2 separate regions of the Homo sapiens genome follow, and region 2 is linked to region 1. Evidence: promoter capture Hi-C in 16 types of primary human blood cells and fetal thymus (Javierre and others, 2016). All regions are on one chromosome and are shown on one strand. Each heading gives the region's core, a stretch centred on a gene start or on the middle of the fragment in contact. The rest is flanking DNA. Distances are from core to core; before and after follow the strand shown.

Region 1 (6,536 bases), core at 554-3,053:
CATCAAAATCCTAAAACCAAACTTTGCAAGACATTTGGAGATGTCCTTGGCAGCACTACTACTACTTGTTAGCGCACCTACCTTCATTCATAGGATTGTGTCAGCAAAGGTTTTAACAACTATGAAAACCCCACCTGTATAGGAGAATACATTTTTTATGGATTTTTCTAGACATGATATATCCATGACTTGCCGAGTTTTGGATTAGCCTTTGTATTCATTTTCTATGGCTGCATAACAAATTACCACAAAACTAGGAGAGCAAAACAACACAAATTTATTATCTCACAGTTTCCATGGGTTGAGAGCCCAGTGTGAACTGGATTCTCAGCTCAGGGTTCCACAAGGCTGAAATCAAGGTGCTGGCCAGCTGCATCCTCATCAGGAGGCTCAACTAGGGAAAGATCTGCTTCCAAGGACCCTCAATGTGTTGGCAAAATTCATTCCTTTGTGGCCATATGACTAAACTCCTTACAGGAGAGTCTCTCTTCCAGTTCAAATTTCTTCTAATCTCTTTTAAGTACTCACTTGATTCGGTCAGGCCGACTCAAGTTAATCTCTCTTTTTATTAATTCAATGTCTGCTGATTAGGGACCTTAATTACATCTGCAAAATCTCTTCTGCGATATTACATAATATAATCATGTGAGTGATGCATAGCCCATCATATTTACAAGTCTTGTTCACGCTGAAAGAGGGCATAATACAGGGCATGAACACGAAGGGGTGGGAATATTGGAGGTCATCCTAGAATTCTGCCTACTTTTGCCCTTTACTCATTGCGTCCCTGTTTCTGTTGAGGAAAATACTCCATTTTCAAGACTGTTATAAGGCCTATATATGCACTTTTCATTCATTAAAGAAAAGTATCACCATGCATTCTGAAACTGTTATTCTTTGAGCTCCACTGTAATCTAGCCCTTGTCCTAAGTCCCTGTTCACTCTGAAAGCTTATGATAGGAAAGGCTGATGCACCTCCCTGTTAACTGCATGTTTACCACACTCCGGCCATAAATTGCTTTTAAATATTTTGCCACATAGTTGGGATTTCTGTCTCACCATGTAATGTGATTCCCGAAGCAGCTGAAGGGGCTGCTTTCCAGGGGACCTATCTAGAGACCCGCACTCAGCAGATCTGGGGCCTTTCTCTCTGTCTGTAACCAGCCCTCCTAGGCATCAGAGCATGTTAAACACACCCCCAAATGGTGGAGTGACAGACACTGGTGGTACCTGAGATCTTAGGTGGTAGACAGGTAGTGCCATTTTTAATTGAGAATTTATTTTGATGTGTCTTAGAAAAAATATACCTATTCAAACTCATGGTTTTAGGGCATAAGCAAAGCTAAAAGAGATTTAAGGTATTTTTTAAAGTGAGTTGATTTGAGGAAAACATTAAATAGATAATACAAGTGGCTAGAATATGGTGAAAGTGATGACAGTGTTACTGCAGTTAGGGAAACGTCTGCATCTAGGAAATTGGTAAGTGACCAACTACTGAATGAACTAGTGAATTCGGTGACTATTGAATAAATTATGTTAAGTGAATCAGACTCCAAGAACCCATTCGGTCTTACGAACGTCTACAGAAGCCCACCACGTGCCATCAGTTGGGCGTGAGCTACACACCCATTAAAGCACGTCTCAAACCACACTCCAGCTACCTGGCGCGCAGCGCGATAGTGTGTGCAGTGTGGGTGGAGCCTTCCGAGGGCGTGGCCAATCCACCTGCGGCCTGCGGTGGGGGCGTGGCTGGAGAGGGGCGGGCCCTCGCGACGGAAGGCGGAAGTGCTGTAGAGTCATGTGACTCGAGTAACATGGCCGCTGTCTCGTGAGTCCCGCTAGTGCCGGGCGGGAGTTGTTAAGCGGCCAGGGTCAGGTGTGCTGGAGCGGGGTCCGGGCCCGGGTTCCAGGGCGAGGCGGCGGAGCGTGGCAGGCAAGCCTAGAGCGGCGTGGTCCATGCGCCGGCGCCGGGGGCAGAGCGGAGCCGCAGACTCCCCTGGCCCCGGCGCGGCCCCGGCAGCCGCGGGCTAAGGAGTCGCGAGGTTCCCCCAGCTGCCACCATGAACCCCGAGAAGGATTTCGCGCCGCTCACGCCTAACATCGTGCGCGCCCTCAATGACAAGCTGTACGAAAAGCGGAAGGTGGCAGCGCTGGAGATCGAGAAGTAAGAGCCGCCAGGACCCCTCCCTGGCTATGCAGCCCCTGACTGCTCTGCTCCCCAGGGGGACTTCTCACGCCTTCCCAGCCAGGGTTACTTTCCCAGGTTTTAGGCCCTTACCTTAGCGCAGTGTTTAAGAGCAGATTGGGAGCCATATCTGGGAGTCCCTGCTTTACTCCTGACTGGCTGTGTGATTTGGTCCCAGCTTTTTAACCTCCCGGTGCCACAAAGGGCTGCAGTGAGAATGAAGTGACATCATGTATGGGTAGTGCTTTGCACAGTGCATGGCACATGGTGAGTCTTCGGTGCGGTGCCACCCAAACCAGCAAATCAGAGAGTTGTCTCTGTGGTGAGAGAGAAGTCAGAAGCCGGAGAATTTGCAGGTGATGCTGACCAGCCTGGTTTCTTACCCAGCTTCTGAGAAGTGAAGGAGATTGTTAGTGACCAAGTAGAGAAATCAGGTCGGAAAACTCGTGATCTCAAGGCTCAGAGAGTTTTTTGTTTTATCTGTGTTATAACACCCTTCCCTGCAAGTGGAAGTAGAAATAATTTGACCTTTCTTGCTTCTGCAGTCTTGTTACATGTATGTGTAACAATGATCTGATATTTTACTTTATTTCCCAATGTACAAAACAGCGAAAGTTTAACTGGGGATGTTTTATTTATTTTTTTTTCTGCAGTATTATTTTACTTTTGTGGGTTTTTTCCCAGTCACATTTTAGTGTTAAAGTCAAGTGAGTGAGTGATTTCAGAAAATTGGAAAGAAGCAGGCTGTGAAACTGGAAGAATACCAGTCTGCGAGTCAGAAAAGGTGAATTGTATTTCTGTTCTGTCCAGTAGAGTAGCCGTTGGCCGTGCGTAGCTATTATAAATTTAAATTATTAAAGATTAAACTTTAGTTTCTCAGTCACACTACCCGTATTTCAAGTGTTCAATAGCCACATGTAGCTATTGGCTGCTATATAGGGCAGCACAGATTATAGACTGTTTCCATCATTGCAGAATGCTCTATTGGACTGCTCTAATCTATTCCGTGGTGTGACATTCATTCGTTAACCTGGGGCAAATTCCTTAACTCAGGGTTTCTCAGCCTCTGCACCATTCACATTTTGGGGCAGATGATTTTTGGTTGTAGTGGGCTGTCCTGTGCCTTGCAGGATTTTTAACAGCGTCTCTGACCTCTTCCCACTGGATGCCAGTAGCACTCCATCCGTTGTAACAATCAAAAATGTCTTCAGACATTGCTAAATGTCCCCTGAAGGAGCAAAATTGCCCCGGTTGACAACTGCTGCTTGCAATCCAAATCAAATGTTGCTTTGGATTTTAGTTTCCTCCTAAACTAAAGGGTTCGGACCTTGATAAGAAATCCCCCACCCTGCCTCCATTCAGCTCTCATACTCAGTATGTCCACAACCATCTAGCTGCTTCTCTCATCAGACACCACTTTCTTGACTGCTCCTTTTATATAGCTTTTTGTTTATGCCTGACTCTCACGAATGCTAGCAAGTCTTATTGCACATTGCCATACTGAATAGAGGGACCCAGAAATGATATATAGGCATGGTTCCGTGTCCATGGGGTTTTGTTGGCTTTGAAGTTGCCTTGACACCTAGTTTTGTCCCTCACCCACTCTGCTTCTCAGGAATATCCGGTTTTATTGTAGCTTGAGTCGTCTGTTGAGTCCTTGAAGAGAGAGGTATTCATCTCAACATTATTGTTGCTTCCAGCGCAACCTGTGTATCTGTTCTCACTCTGCACACAGTTCTGTAAGGGTTTTGTCTTTGATCGAGTTCATTTTGTATTGGACATTGCCCTTGATTTGTGGAATTTAGAGAAACTCAGCAGTGCCTTGACTGTGAACTCCTTAAGAGCAGAGAGTTCTGTTTATGTATCTGTTTTATTTATCCTTAGCACTTAGCCTGGCAGCACTTGACAGCTGGTGTCCGAATAAATGAATGACCGTACATTTTCGGTGGGGAAATAACATTGCAGGCTCAGGACCTTGCTGCCCAAAAGCGTGGCCTACAGACAGCAGCATCAGGATCACCTGGGAGCTTGTTAGAGGCTCTGCAGCTTTGCTCCAGACCTATGGAATCAGAATCTGCATTTTAACAAGATCCCTGGGTGATTTGTGTGCACATTAAAGTTTGAGAAGCACTGGCCTCAAAGACCCTCTCATCTGTTTCCAACCTTCTCCAGTCATGCTTAGAATGAAGAATGGCTGGTTAGTTCAATGCCTTCCTCAGAACATATGCTTCACAAATTGCTTAGAGATAGATACTGACTTACTTATCTGTGCTTCACCAGCACCAGCATTTTGCTTGTCTGAGCACTTTCTATGTGTCAGGTACACATAGGATATTGTATGTTTTAATATATTCTTCATTTGGCCTGGTCAAAGTGACCCTCAGCAAACACAGACTATTAATTAATCTCTCATTAATCAGACTGCAGATGCCCAACAAAAGAAGAGTCCGAATATTGGCAGTTATCTATGTAGTGTAAATGAGTCAGTTCATGTGCTCCCTAAATGAAAGTGCTTAGTCCTGTTCTTAGGTAAGTTGCCCCTTTAAGATACCCTATTTCCTGAGAGGCTGCGTGGCATGGTGTTTAAGAGCAGGCTCTGGAACTGGGGTTCAAGCTCCCATTTACTGGCTAGGTGACCCTGAGCAAGCTAATTAACCTCTGTGCCTCAATTTCTTCATCTGTAAAAAGAGCATAATAATAATATGCATAGAGTTGTTTGAGCTAATGTTGTAAAGTGCTGTGTTAGTCTGTTCTTGCTCTGCTATAAACAAATACCTGAGACTGGGTAATTTATAAAGAAAAGAGATTTATTTGGCTCACGGTTCTGCAAGCTGTACAGAAAGCATAGCGGCTTCTGCTTCTGGCGGGGCCTCAGGATGCTTCCAATCATGATGGAGGGCAAAGAGGGAGCAAGGCGTCCCACATGGCGGGAGCAGGAGCAAAAGAGAGTGAGCAGGGAGGTGCTGCACACTTTCAAACAACCAGATCTCTTGAGAACTCACTATCACAAGAACAGCACCAAGAAGATGGTGCTAGGCCATTCATCATCATGGGAGAAATCCACCCCCATGATCCAGCCACCTCCACCAGGCCCCATCTCCAACACTGGGAACTACAGTTGAACAAGAGATTTGGTGGGGACACAGATCCAAACCATATCAAGTATTTAGTGTAGTAGTGGGCACATTGTAATTGTTACAAACTGTATACATAGAGAGAGAATTGTTATGTAATTGCCCTAATTATTTCTAACATACGTATATCACATAGTTGTCATCTGTCAGTACTGCTGTTACCACTTTTTGGTAGGGAGAATGATAGCCTCCTATATTTGCCCCATGCTAATCCCTGGAGCCTGTGAATATGTTATGTTACACAGCAAGGGGGAATTAAGGTTGCTAATCACTAACCTTAAAAATAGAGAGATTATCCTGTATTATCGAGGTGGGCCCAATGTAACCCTAACCAGAAGAGTCAGTGTCAGAGTGATGTGATGTAAGAAAACTTACCCGGATCATCACTGGCTTTGAAGATGGAAGGGAACCACCAGCCAAGGAATGCTGGCAGCCTCTAGAAGCTGGCAAGAAAATGGATTTTCCCCTAGAGCATCACAAAATAACATAGCCTGCCAACATCTTGATTTTAGCTCAGTAAGACCCATAGTAACAAATGCGTTGTTCTTGAATTTTTTTAATTTTTTAATTTATTTTATAGAGATGGGGGTCTCACTATGTTGCCCAGGCTGGTCTTGAACTCCTAGGCTGAAACAATCCTCCCACTGCAGCCTCCCAAAGTGCTGGGATTACAGGCAAGAGCCACTGCCCCAGCCTGGTGTCTCCTTTTATGAGGACACTGATCCTATGGAATCAAGGGCCCCACCCTTAGGACCTCTTTTAACCTTAATTACTTCCTTATAGGCCCTCTCTCCAAATCCAGTCACACTGTGGATCAGAACTTCAATATATGAATCTGGGGGTTGGGGGACTGTTCAGTCCATCACAGTGATCATAGTGAAGCCTGGGAGTGCACGTATATAAAGTGCTGTCTGCCCCATTTTGGATGGTTGGGAGGATATAGAAAAGCTTCCTTTGGTTTGGCCATGGTATACCCCTCATCTCATTTATTTTGCATCGCTGCCCTATGGGCGTGGTGGTGTTACCCTGTTTCACAGATGAGGAAACAGGCTCCTTGAGGTTAAGTAATCTTCCCATGGTTTCACAGCTAGAACCTAGCAAGAAAACTCAGGTTCATGTGTCTCAGAAGACGTCCCCACTGCATGACTGGTTTTCCCTACCAGAAAGGGGACATACTTATAATAAAAGGAATTTGATACTTGAAATTCTCCACAGTG
Region 2 (6,539 bases), core at 3,862-6,361, 610 kb before region 1:
GCAGGTTATTCCGTAGGAGCAAATAGTTTGGGGAGTAGTCTACATAGTGGTCAAGAGTTTTTTAAAACTCCAAACCTTAGATTGTTGTCTACATATACCCTCTTGGGCAAAAGGTAGTTCTTACTTGGAGAAAACATAGATTGTATTATCTTGAGGGGGTCTAAAGGGAACCACAGAGGGGAGGAAGAGGAGACATGGGAAGTCTTTCTGGTTAGGGCAGTGGTCTCCCTGGTGGGGTGGACACCCTTGTCTTGGTGTGATCATTGAACTCATGGAAATGACAGGCGGCCTGTGACACCAACTTTTCAAAGGGGAAGGATTTCTTGCATGTATTGATGGGGCCTCAGCTCTATCTAATAGGAGGTACGTACTGCACTGGAGGCCTCAGATGGCCCTAGGAACTATTCTTGAGGCCTCTAATGTACACTGGGCTCCTCCAGCAAGAAAGACCCCCATGGGTTGACTGGTTGTTGGTGGTGGGAAGAAGACCTCACCTGGTGTGGGAATGGGGGTGGGGCCAAAACTCCAGTGGTTGAGGGTATCTTGCAGGAAGTCTCTGATGACTGTTGCTTCTCAGGGCTGTTTTGAGGAACACAGTTGATTGAAGACTCTCCCTTCCTCTGTATGTTTACCCTGAAATGTGTCTCAAGTTGGTAGCACCTACTTTCTCTGTGGCAAGAGCTCCTTTTTTTTTTTTTTTTTTTGATAGGGAGTTTTGCTCTTATGCCCCAGGCTGGAGTGCAATGGCGTGATCTCGGCTCACTGCAACCTCCGCCTCCTGAGTTCAAGCGATTCTCCTGCCTCAGCCTCCCAAGTAGCTGGGATTATAGGCATGTGCCACCACACCTGGCTAATTTTATGTTTTTAGTAGAGACAGGGTTTCTCCATGTTGGTCAGGCTGGTCTTGAACTCCCGACCTCAGGTGATCTGCCTGCCTTGGCCTCCCAAAGTGCTGGGATTACAGGCGTGAGCCACCGCACCGGGCTGGCAAGAGCTCTTTTAACATACTATGCCATGAAGGAGAGTTCATGGGTGTTCTTGTTCAGAATGCAACTCTGGATCGTATAAGGCCTTTCTTGTTTTTCTCATTTTTAATCCAGGTCTTGGAGTTTTGGTTATTTTCTTCTGGGGGAAAGATTTTGCCACTTCCCTTCCTGTTCTTTTCCTTGCTAAGCAAACTGGTTTTTGAGATTCCGTTTGCTAACAGCTTTCATTCAGGCTCTGTGGTTTTTAGATTGATGTTCCAGAAGAGGCTTGGTCCCATGAAGTAAGTCAATGTTACTTTTCACTATGGCAGTTGCTCTCCCAGCCCCTGTCTTGCGGATGCTCTTCCGAAGTGCATTTGGAAGGCTGCGTCTCGCTTCCATTTCTTTCTCTTCCAGAGTCACCTTGCTTAAGGGCTGTGATTTTCTGCTAATGCTCTGCATGAGTGGGCTGTGCAGATGCACGTTGATCTTTTCAGGAGAGTGTTGGCCTTATGCAGTGGATAGTCACCTTCTTTCAGCGGATTTACTGTTCTTCCAGATGTTGCTTGTCTGATACAACCTCCCTCTGTGTTGCCTGGAAGTAGTCTGTGCTTTTCCCCATCATGGTTAACGAAGACTCTGTCGAAGTCATCTGCCGTCTGACTTGTCCGAAACTGTGTCTCATCGCTCTACTGGCCTGCCGGCGCTTCTCATGGTGTAATGTGATCTTTTAGATGGGCGTTTTCTTGTGTCTTGCAAAAAAGGACATGGAGGACTCTCTGAGATTGCTCATGGCATTTGATGAAGTCATTAAAGGCAGCATGTTGGTTTCTCTGTTTCTCTTTTTCCTGTAGGAATTCTGAAGCCTCATGTGTTCTTCCCGAGCCAGACAGAAGTTAGATCCACGTGTCTCCTTTGCATTTAAATTCTTTAAAGCTCTTCTTACCTTAGAAAGTGTTATTAAATCTCACATATGGTTTTGTTATATTTCACATTGTCTCTGTTTTCTCTTGTTAACTGGCTCCAAATTAACAAGCAGTTTCCTCACTAGAATTTAATTTGATATGTTGAAGCCCAGACTCTTCCTTTGACTGATTTCTGTTTTGTACTCTGATGGCCTCAAAGAATGTCCCTGAACTTTTGATCTTTTTGTTCAGAGTCAAACAGTATATTTAGAATGTCTCCCATTCCTTCAGATACATTTTGAGGATTCAGTTGACAGTCTCTGGGGCAGGAAGGAAAACATCCCCCCAGCCTCTCAGCTGAAGCCCAGGCACTAGGCTGGGTCTGCAAAAGCTGGGGGTGAGGTCTTTGGGGAAGCCTCTTAGATTGGTGAGGAGGATATGGTCCCCCTCTGCCTCAGGTTTGGATGGCCTCTGTTCTGGGGGCTCCCTTCCAACAGAGAGGGCTGTTCCTTGGCCTGAGGGGCAGCAGCTGCAGGAGAGGAGTCTGAAGTGGGGGTCTCCTGTGTCCCTAGCCTTTTTCCGGGTGAGCTGCAGCCTCCAGAGGGAAGTGGCAAAGGCTGTGGTCCCTGCAGCACCCTACTACATATAGTAGCAACAAAGATGATTAAATACTTAGGGATAAACTTAATAAGAAATGTGCAAAATCTATAAAGGGAAAATTTTACAACACTTCTGGAAAACACTAAAGCACGTGGAGTGGGAAGACATCCCTTGTTTTTGGCTATCATAACTCAACATCAAGATGCCCTTTTCCCCCCAAGTTGACTTATAAATTGAATGCCATTCCTATAAAAATACCAATAAGCTTTGTTTCATGGAGTTGATAAGCTGATACTAAAGTTTCTATGGAAAATAAACATGCTGAAATAGCCAGGGAAAAACTGACCAAAATGGGGGCCTCACCCTATGGGCTGTTAAAACAAACTATAAAGCCTCTGTAATTAGAACAGTGTGGCATTGACCACATGAACAGACAGACAGACCAATGGAATAGAATAGAAAGTACAGAACAGACCTAAGTACGAATGGGAATTTAGTATATGATAAAGGTGGCATGTGAAATCTCAGAGGCAATGATAGACTATTTATTTATTTATTTATTTATTTTTTGAGATGGAGTCTTGCTCTGTCATCCAGACTGGAGTGCAGTGGCACGATCTCAGCTCACTGAAACCTCCACCTCCTGGGCTTAAGCGATTCTTGTGCCGCATCCTCCCAAGTAGCTGGGATTACAGGTGTGCACCACCATACCTGGCTAATTTTTGTATTATTTATTTATTTATTCTGGTAGAGATGGGGTTTCCCCATGTTGGCCAGGCTGGTCTGAAACTCCTGACCTCAAGTGATTCACTCATCTTGACCTTCCAAAGTGCTGGGATTACAGACATGAGCCACTGTGCTTGGCCCAGACTTTTTAATAAATGGTACTGGGATAATGGGGTAGTCTTTTTTTTTTTAAAAAAAGATAAAATTAGATCTATTGTTCACAGCATATATAAGAATAAACTCAAATGGATCATGAATTTAAGTGTAAAAAATGAAAACATGTAAGTACTAGGGGGAAAAAGTCCGTGGGTGAATTCCTCTTAACCTCAGTGTAAGGAAAGGATTTGAAAGCATCACTCAGAATCCAGAAGCAATGAAATAAAATTCTGGCAAATTGGACATGGCAAACCAAACCAAACCAAACCAGACAAAACAAAAAACCCAAACCACAGAAACCAAAGTAACTGAAAAATTGAGAGAAAATATTTGTAACACATACCACAGACAAAGGGCTAATCTCCCTTATATATACAGAACTCTTAAAAATTGAGGGACAGAGGATGAAATACTCCACAGAAAAAAGAGAAAAGACTTGGACAATTCACACACACATTAAAATGGTCCTCAAACATATGCCAGTTACTGGGACAGTGTTGTGGGGACAAAAATAAGTAGACACAGTTCCTTCCCCCAAGGAGTTTCCAGTTCACTGGGAAAGTCACAGAAACTAACTTGAATGGGGACAGAGTATGGTTAAATTTCAAGGGGTAGGCTGGGTGCGGTGGCTCATGCCTATAATCCAAGCACTTTGGAAGCTGAACCAGGAGGATCACTTGAGCCCAGGAGTTTGAGACCAGCCTGGGCAACATGATAAGACCGCATCTCTACAAAAAATTAAAAAACTAGCCAGGTGTGGTAGTGCGTGTCTCTAGTTCCAGCTACTTGTGGGGGGGTGAGGTGGGAGGATCACTTGACCCAGGGAGGTTGAGGCTGTAGTGAGCCATGATCGTGCCACTGCACTCCAGCCTGGATGACAGAGGGAGACCCTGTCTCAAAAAATAAATAAAAACGGGTGGGGTTGGATTTCACCTGAGCCTGCTGGAGGGCAGGGAGGAGCAGTTGGTGGGGTGGAATGTCAGGGAGTGAACAATCTAAGAGGCAGGTGAAAGTGGTTCTGAGCAGAGAGGACCATTGGGGGATGAGGCAGCTGTTGGAGAGGGATGGGTCAAGGGATGGAGGGTAGCACTGTGAGCTGAAATAGGTGAATTGGGAGGGATGCTGGCTAGAGAAGAGGTAAGTCCAGCACTTACTGTGCTTGGGGCTGTGAGAGGCACCTGAGGACAGATGCCTGTCCTCCAGGATCCCACAGTCCTGGGTGGAAACCAGCAGGGCCTTGATGAACTAGACTTCCGGAGAGAATGAACTCAGTACTGTAGTGGAGGGACCAAGGGCAAGCTGCCCAAGGCTCAGACTAGAGTTGGGGCTGGTTGGGTTTCAGGTGAAGACAGATGTCCATGTGGATCTAGCCCACTGGTCTCTGGACATGTGGTTATGTTGGTCAAAGGAGAAGACCAAGGCTCAGAACAAAGACTTGAGATTTGCCCCCTCAACTGTCAGAGAAGGAGTTATGGAGGGAGATCGTGGCCTGAGGGTCATGGAGTGGCCAGGGGAGAGTCTTGGTCAGTCACACATTGGAGGCCATGAGAAAGAGTAGTTAGGAGAGGGGTGCTTGAGCCAGTAATCAGATTCAAGTCCCTGTTATGCTCATGTGCCAGCTCTGCCCTTGAGTTTTCTCATCTTTCAATTGGGGAATGGGGCCGGGTGCGGTGGCTCACACCTATAATCCCAGCATTTTGGGAGGCCAAGGCGGGTGGATCATGAGGTCAGGAGTTTGAGACCAGCCTGGCCAATGTGGTGAAACCCCATCTCTACTAAAAATACAAAAATTAGCCAGGCATGGTGGCGGGCGCCTGTAATCCTTGGGAGGCTGAGGCAGGAGAATCGCTTGAAACCAGAAGGTGGGGAGGTTGCAGTGAGCCAAGATCATGCCACTGCACTCCAGCCTGGGTAACAAGAGCAAAACTCTGTCTCAAAAAATAAATAAATAAATAAAAATTTAGAGAATGAATCAAGGCATGACTGTAGGACCAAACGAGTTCACATATGCAAAGTGTTTTAATATGGTCAAAGCATTCAATAAATGCTGCTGTTAATTAGGAGGCAAGAAGAGATTGAAGGGAAATCTCAAGGGGCTCCAGAGACTACTACGATGGTGCAAAGTCACAGAAGCCCTGGGAAAAGCAGGTAGAATGGAGTTGCCATGACATTGAGCCTCACCTAGATGCCAGGTAGGTAACACGCATTATCACAGGTGAGTCTCACTGTAATCTCACAAGGGAATTTCTATGGTCATCCCCACCCCACAGTGTAACAAGCTCAAGGTCCCAAGAGTATGACCTACGTTTCCTGTTCTGGACCTTAAGTTTTATTTATTTATTAATTATTTTACTTTTTTTGAGATGAGGTCTTGCTCTGTCACACAGCCCAAAGTGCAGTGGCACGATCCTGACTTACTGCAACCTCCGCCTTCCAGGCTCAAGCAATCTTTCTACCTCAGCCCCCCAAGTATCTGTGAGTACAGGCATGTGCCACCACACTCGGATATATATATATATATATATATATATATATTTGTGTGTGTGGAGATAGGGTTTCACTAGGTTGCCCAGGCTGGTCTCAAACCCCTGGTCTCAAGTGATCCGCCTGCCTCGGCCTCCCAAACTGTTGGGATTCCAGGCGTGAGCCACCGTGCCCAGCCTGGACCTTAAGAATGAAATCATCCTTGGGTTAAAGGCTGGTCTCCCTTAGAGATGGTTGTTTGCAGGTCACCTTCCAGGGGCTAATACTCTGGCAAATGCTGGTGACCTTGAGATGAATGAGCCTTGATCCGTGTACTCAGTGAGCTCTCAGGATGAGGGTTCCTGTAGCCTCTCTCTTCATTGCATCATCTCCAAAACCTGACAGGACTGATGCTGGAAGGTCTTTCCAAGGCCCAGACTCCTCTCCTGGCTCAAACACTTTCCATGGCTCTCTGTGGCCTCCAGCCCAGGGTCTGAATTGGTTCTACCTGGCCAAGTGCTCTGCCTGCTTTTAGGGTCTGGTCTGTGCCGCGAGCCCCTGTCCCATCCCAGCTTTATCTCCCACAACTTCCCAGCCCTTACCTATGCCCTGGTCATGTGGATCCTTTCCTGTATATCTATACCCTTCATTCATCTTGGTCTTTTGGTCTGAAATGCAGCCCCCTCCTCCACTGGCCCCTGAAACCTAACCCACCCTCCTCCTG

What was found. The method cuts DNA at HindIII sites, captures the fragments that hold promoters and counts their contacts. A CHiCAGO score of 5 or more calls a contact.
Region 2: a contact is called between a fragment that was not itself captured here and the fragment with the promoter of VAC14 in region 1, in 1 of 17 cell types (erythroblasts). The highest score is 5.2, in erythroblasts.

Annotation. Positions count from the first base shown.
Region 1 is chr16:70,796,425-70,802,960 of GRCh38, reverse strand. It overlaps VAC14 (VAC14 component of PIKFYVE complex), which reads left to right and starts at 1,803. Exons shown (of 19, transcript NM_018052.5): 1 at 1,803-2,164. The coding sequence starts at 2,061. It overlaps HYDIN (HYDIN axonemal central pair apparatus protein), which reads left to right. Exons shown (of 86, transcript NM_001270974.2): 86 at 1-877. RefSeq lists enhancers at 1,768-1,827, 1,495-2,117 and a silencer at 1,908-2,097. The HindIII fragment of the contact is 5,317 bases long and covers 953-6,269 here.
Region 2 is chr16:71,413,870-71,420,408 of GRCh38, reverse strand. It overlaps LINC02136 (long intergenic non-protein coding RNA 2136), which reads left to right. Exons shown (of 3, transcript NR_146574.1): 2 at 5,414-5,544. Among named protein-coding and RNA genes, the nearest start is that of LINC02136, 9.3 kb to the left of the region's middle. The HindIII fragment of the contact is 4,748 bases long and covers 2,738-6,539 here.